Regions from separate parts of the Homo sapiens genome. Here region 1 is linked to region 2. The links are contacts of gene promoters, found by promoter capture Hi-C in blood cells and fetal thymus (Javierre and others, 2016). All regions are on one chromosome and are shown on one strand. Each heading gives the region's core, a stretch centred on a gene start or on the middle of the fragment in contact. The rest is flanking DNA. Distances are from core to core; before and after follow the strand shown. Region 1 has its middle 200 kb from the start of LINC02238. Region 2 holds the start of LRRC53 (leucine rich repeat containing 53).

Region 1 (3,405 bases), core at 209-2,708, 640 kb after region 2:
TAGCCAAATACTAAAAGAAACGGAAAGAATTCAAAGTTTAGCAAAGATGAACAATTTGCAGGTAGGTAAGCAAATTATCTTTTTAAAGGGTGGGAGAAGGAGGAGGAAATAAATGAAATCTCTACCAGATAAGAGAAGATGAGTCATTGAAACAAAGAATTCCTCAATAACTTTACCTCGAAAATAAAATGAAATACCTAGAAATATATAATTAATATTTTTTTTGGAAACTCTTTATTAGTGTTACATCACTTATATTGCATGAAAATATTTAAACCAAATAAAGCACAATATATTGTTATTTATAATAGTAGTTGGATTAGTAAATGAAATTTTTTAGGATATCATTACAAGCACCAAATATTGCTAGAGAAAATTAATACATTTACCTAATTCTCTCTTTGGAAGTTATAAAAGTGAAATTTTGAGAAGAGAGAAAACATCATGCACAGTTTAAACTAACTTTTGCCACTTACATACACACGTATACAGACATTTACAGACACATATGCATAGGTGGGTTACATTTATATGCTAATAAGTTACTATGATTTTTTTCTGGATATTAGTGCTATCAGTGAATTAGGATTTTTATCTTTGCACTATTGTATTTCCTACAAAAGAACATGTATTAGTTAAATTTAAAAAGTAATTAAATACCTGGAGCAAAATAGATCACATTAGTAATGGCGCTTAACAACACCTGAGGAGTCACATGAAGACTATAACAACAAAGAGAAATGAATCAAATCTTAAAAAATAAAATGTGGGCTCACAGTAAATCCTTCAGACTGCTATTTAGTTAATAATAAGTGAGAACAGCATTTAATTTATATTCAGAATAAAAAACATCAGTGGAGAATTTCCTAAATTTCCTAGAAAATAAATATTAAAAGATGTAGTATAATTTTTTATTCTTATAGTCAAATGAATATAAGTTGGTTTTCAGAGTTTACTTTTTATTATTAAAATACTCCTATGATAATCTATCAGCAAATTGCCACAGGCTTTGATATTGACTTTTGATTGCTAAAATAATCTTTTTAATTTATTTTTTTACTCTTTGGACCAAATATAGGTCTCTATATTCTTTTAAAGATTGAAAAGTGGCAGAATATACCACTCCAAAATATGCCACTGTGGCATAAAGATTATTTTGAGCTGAAGGCAGCTGAGAAACAGCAGATAAAAGCAGAGCTCTATCTTCCCCCATTTGCCTGAAAAGCAGGACAAATATTTAAAAAAGCATCTCTCTTCCCCTCTCTTACCAGAAGCACAAAGGTTGATCACTGAAGATGACATCAGCCTGGAGTCAGCACCAGAGGAGCCTATGTCACAAGCTTTACTAGCTGGAATGTATTTAGTTCCCCATATATTTGCCTTCCCACAGTTTTCTGCCCCTGGAGACTCTAGGCCCTTTTCCCTTTGTTCTGTCATTTCTTTACAAATTTATTGTTCTTCAGTGATGATGCTGCTTAAAAAAGAGTTGTAAACCACTTCGTTGAGAGGTACATTTTCCCTGACTTTTCTCCCATATGTATGAGGTATACATGTTAATAAACTTGTTCGTTTTTCTCTTGTTAATCAGCTTTAGTTACATGGGTCCCAACTAAGAACTTAGAAGGGCAGAGGGAAAATTATTTTTCCTTTCTACAAGATGGACATGTGATTAAAATGGCCATTAGTATATCAGTAAATTTCATGTTCTTATAAAGCAAAATTTATCAGGGGAGAATAAAACCTCTCTTAATAGAAGGAGACTAATGCAAATTTTGTAGAATTAAAATAAACTGTTCCCAGAAACAACATAGTAACTAATAGAATATATCTTTAATATTAAAATGTCAGGATAAAGCAAAATTAGATTGAATGTGTAATGAGAATTATCTTAAAAACCATCAGAAACATCTAAAAGCACTGACAGTTTTGCATATGACACAAAATATTTGTCTTAAAAATAAAAAGCATATTTAAATGAGTTATTTGGCATTGGGGGAGGCTTTTGTGTGAAGAGTCTAGCAATACACTTCTGTCTCTGGAATAGGGAATGGAAGCCAAATCCAACACAATATAAGGACTACTGTGTTATTTTGAGAAGCACAATAGTGAAAATATAATATGGTTTCAAGGGTGACAATGGCAGCAACTAGAATACCACTGGGCAGAATCACTAGGCTCTTGGGGGCTGTCTCTGTCCCACCCTCCCTTGCCTGTGAGTCTCAATTCTCTCATACTCAATTTTGGGGTTCTTAGAGATGTTTTGAACCACCACACTGGGCAGTATTTAGCTGAGGCTTATTTCATCAGTTGAGGCACAGCAAATTTTGGGCCCAGCCACTGTCATCTCTCCTAAATGATCATAGAAAACACTAGACAGCTATTGACAGGTGCACTCTCAGACAATAGCATAGCAAGAATGACAGGCCTTTGACTAAGTACAAGAGTGGTTGGAAATTTGGTTTGATTCCCAATCTAATCTATTGTTGCTACAACAAAAACTTTTTTTTTTCTTCTTAAAGACAGAGTCTCACACTGTTGCCCAGGCTGGAGAATAGCAGCATGATTATAGCTCACTGCAGCCTAGAATTCCTGGGCTCAAGCAGTCTTCCCACCTCAGCCTCATGAGTAACTGGGAGTTTAGGCATGTGCCATCATGCCCAGCTAATTTTTTAAAATGATTTCTTGTAGAGATGGGGATCATGCTATGTTGCTTAGGCTGATCTTGAACTCCTGGCCTCAAGCGATCTCTATGCCTTGACCTCCTGAAGTTCTAGGATTACAGGCTTGAGCCACCATGCCAGCCAAATTCCATTCTTGACTTCCTACTTGGCTATTCCTATCGGATTCCAAGGCCTTATTTGGAAATTAAAAAAAAAAATTGACTTCCTTCTTTCCTTCCTTCCTTCTTTTCTCTCTGTCTGTCTTTGTCTCCCTCTCTCTTTTTTTTTTTTTTTCCAATATCAGTCCTTCTTATTTCCTAGGTAATGTGAATAGAGTCCTGACTAGCAAAAGGGTCAGAGTTAAGAAAGGACCAAACATTCAAAGATTTCTGCTTTAAGAGATTATTTTGCCATATGGATGATATTTTGCCATTTGTTGAATGCCTAGTATATACTAGGTATTTGGATGCATTTCATATAAACCTTCAAAGCAAAGCTTCAAGATCAGTGATTTATAGATGAGGAAAAGATTAAGGGGGCAGCCCTGCTATAAATTCTTAAAAAGGATCTCTGGATTTTAGAGAACACCCTCTTCAGCAAGCAATAGCAAAGGGGCAAAAGAGAAAGATGATGCTCAAATATGAAGTCAACAAAATATAGTATTTTCTGTGTTCTACCAATGGATACATTTTACCTTCAACCCAGTTCCATGCTTTCAAGCCTTTTCTTCAGGTTAGTAAAGATC
Region 2 (3,343 bases), core at 311-2,810:
TTTAAATGCTCTATAAAATCTGCATTACAAGACTCTATGATTCATAAAGGAAGCTTCTATTTTGGTGTGCCTGGGTAAATTTGGCTATGCAAACTTCGAATAGCCTTTGAATTGAAAAACGCAGTTATCGTTTACTGGCTGACAACCTTTTCAAGGGAGAGAGAGGCAGGCACTGTACAACCAAAGATAACTTTACTTAATTAGTTTTTGGAAGATTATTTACTCCCCTTAGTCTATAGAAAAACAAAGGTCTGTCAGCACCAGATGCATCTGAGCTTTGCAGATGCGGTTGTGGCTTCTTGAAATCTTTAAAGATTCATCTAAAATATGCTTTCAGGTCTCCTTTTTGTGAAACTTTGACAGGATAATAGAATTAGATTTGCTGAAATTCACTAAACTGTAAAGTAATGTGTCATCAGCTTCACTTACTTTCCAAAAAATATTTCTCTCTGGTAATGCTCATCAATCTAGCTTTTCAACCCCTAAACATGAAACTCTGAAACAAAAAGGATGACTCCATCAGTTACGCAAGTGACAAGATGTTAAACATTTAACACTCCCACATAGTAGCGCCAGCTGCCTCTGGATGAAGCAGATTTGCTTAGGTTTGGCATAGAGAAAAAAAGGAAGACAAAGAGAAGAAAAATGAAAGGAAGAGGAACTCCTCTTGCAGTGAGAATGCAAAGTTCTCTGCAGATGTGCAGGAGTCTGAAGTGGGATGTGCCTTCTGCACAAACCTTTTCTTCTGAGGGAACATTGCAAAGACAGTCATCATCAGGTTCTCAACTCCTACTACCAGTGCCCCTGCATCCCCAACATTTCATGGACTCACTCTGATAAGAACACCTAGTGCACTGGATTAAAATAATGAAAGGACAGGGACTCAGTAAATTTCCACATCCCGGTATAATTTCTCAATAAATATCAGCTGAATAAACGAACTAGGAAAGCACACGTGGACCTCTGGGTCATTCGGACTCTTTCTCCACAACCATTTCCTCATCTTAGGCACCTACCTCTGCTGTAATCTCAGGCCAGTGAAACAGTATCGACTGAGCAAGCTGTGTGCTAGGTTGATTCTAACAACAGAATCCCTTGACTTTGTTAACAGCCCCAAACTGGCATCAACTTTAAAGAGTCAAGACTATTTTCCTCTTTAAGTGTCTTATCAAGAGGAATGTTAGTGAAAGGGCAAAAGTCGTCTATAGTTTTCCACGGTGAGCCATTTACCCGGATGAGGGACAGAAAAGGCCAGCTTTAGGTGATCACATAGTGACCCCATCATAAGGCTTGTTAACAGAGAAGTTTTCCTTGTAGAGTGAGGCATGCTGCAGGGGGTGCCCATTTTGAAGAATACAGTATGAAGCTCCCAACAGTGAAGACAGAATGGTATAAATAGCAACCCGTCAGTGGTAGGTGTTTGTTCTTTCACTCAGTGGACTTCTGATGAGTAACTACCATGTGCCAGGCGTTATTCCAGGCACTAAAGGATGAAGCCAGGAGGGGGTGGTGTGGGAGTGGAGATGCATATAAAGAGGAATAAGGCATATGGCTGAGATGCTGGACAGTTAACTCAGTAGGTCTCAGATTCATCATCCACCTTTTAATGTAGAGATTCACAAACTACAAGCTGTGAGACCTTTGGGTAAGTTAATTTCTTTCTTTTGGTGTTTTTGTTATGATGGCTGGATTTTTACACCTTTATTTCTCTTTCCTCACCATTTAAAGAGACAGACTTATAAACAGATGATCATGTGGGTGATGTCATCAGTACAGGAATGTCATCAGTGCAGGAATAGTTGAGTGCCATGAGCCACCCTGCAGTGTTGCCTGTTTTGCACAGTTCTAGGGGCCAATCTTGGGTTCAAGGTGGAGCTCTACTGTGTCTATGTCACTCATGTCTCATCTAGATTACCATATTATCCCTAGCTCCATGTTTGAGTCTGTACAATCACTGACAGTAAACACAGCTGCAGAAATCATGCCCCTTTATGGTCCCTCACAGGTTCGAGTCATGCCCCAGGGCTATTTCAATAAAGACTGGTGGCTGCTATATCCAGTCCCATCCAGATCTTTTCATGCTCACTGCCTGAATGAAGAGAAGAGTCTGAGGTCTCAGTGACTGGAAGGGAAGCTGCATGAAGGAAAGCTGCCCTCTTCCTTCCGATTTTCCTTGGGTACTGAACTTACTTGACTCCATGTTCTTTTATTTCTACTTCTATTGACTTTAGATCCTCATCTATAGCTTCTGCTCTACCCACACTCAACCCTTTGCTGTTCCCAAATGTACTGTGCAGGTTCCCACTTTCCTGCCTTTGTCCCTGTTGCTTCCCTTTCCTAGTACACTCTTTCTTCCTTTCTCTGCTTGGTTAACTCTGCCAAACTCAAGTGAAACGGGATGGCTTTTGGGAAGCCTACCTTGACTCTTCTCAGGCTCACAGGGCTTCCTACACATGGCTCAGTACTTATCTTCCTGTGTGTTTCTCTGACCTCCTCCCTTAAACTGTGAATTCCCCCAGGACTGAAGAGATCTCTAATCCATCATTGGGTGTCCAATATTTACTACATGATTCAATATATAAGAGCTGCTTAATAAATGATAGATAAATGCATATCCAATGGAATTAGATCAGTGAAGAGGCTAGCGTAATAGGGAAAATGACACATACATTTGTGTTTTCCACCTGTAAGTAATATATTGTTAATTCTTTAAATAAAGAAAATAAGAGTGAATTACTTGAGGTCAGGAGTTCGAGACCAGGAGTTCGAGGCCAACATGGCAAAACCCTATCTCTACTAAAAATACAAAAATTAGCAGGGTGTAGTGACGTGTGCCTGTAGTCCCAGCTACTCGGGAGCCTGAGGCACGAGAATTGCTTGAACCCGGGAGGCAGAGGTTGTGGTGAGCCGAGATCGCACCATTGCACTCCAGCCTGGGCAATAAGAGCGAAATTCCATCTCGGAAAAAAAAAAAATAGGCCGGGCACGGTAGCTCACGCCTGTAATCCCAGCACTTTGGGAGGCCAAGGCGGATGGATCACCTGAGGTGATCACCAGGAGTTCCAGACCAGCCTGGCCAACATGGTGAAACTCTGTTTCTACTAAAGATACAAACATTAGCTGGGCATGGTGGCAGACGCCTGTAATTCCAGCTACTTGGGAGGCTGAGGCAGGAGAATCACTTGAACCTGGGAGGCAGAGGTTGCAGTGAGCCAAGATCGCACCATTGTACTCCAGCCTGGGGGACAAGAGTGAGACTTCGTCTCAAAAAAGAAAAAAAGCATATTCAGTTTGCTAAAACTCTTTATACAAGAATACAAGACTAGCTATCAAAATACTGGGC

The links. Contacts are between HindIII fragments. The CHiCAGO score rates a contact against its expected background, and 5 or more counts as called.
Region 1: a contact is called between a fragment that was not itself captured here and the fragment with the promoter of LRRC53 in region 2, in 1 of 17 cell types (erythroblasts). The highest score is 6.1, in erythroblasts.

The regions. Positions count from the first base shown.
Region 1 is chr1:73,872,920-73,876,324 of GRCh38, reverse strand. No RefSeq gene overlaps it. Among named protein-coding and RNA genes, the nearest start is that of LINC02238, 200 kb to the right of the region's middle. The HindIII fragment of the contact is 3,401 bases long and covers 1-3,158 here.
Region 2 is chr1:74,510,828-74,514,170 of GRCh38, reverse strand. It overlaps LRRC53 (leucine rich repeat containing 53), which reads left to right and starts at 1,560. Exons shown (of 5, transcript NM_001382280.1): 1 at 1,560-1,645. The region is part of intron 25 of FPGT-TNNI3K (FPGT-TNNI3K readthrough); the gene reads right to left. All of the region lies in intron 23 of TNNI3K (TNNI3 interacting kinase), which reads right to left. The HindIII fragment of the contact is 6,650 bases long and covers 56-3,343 here.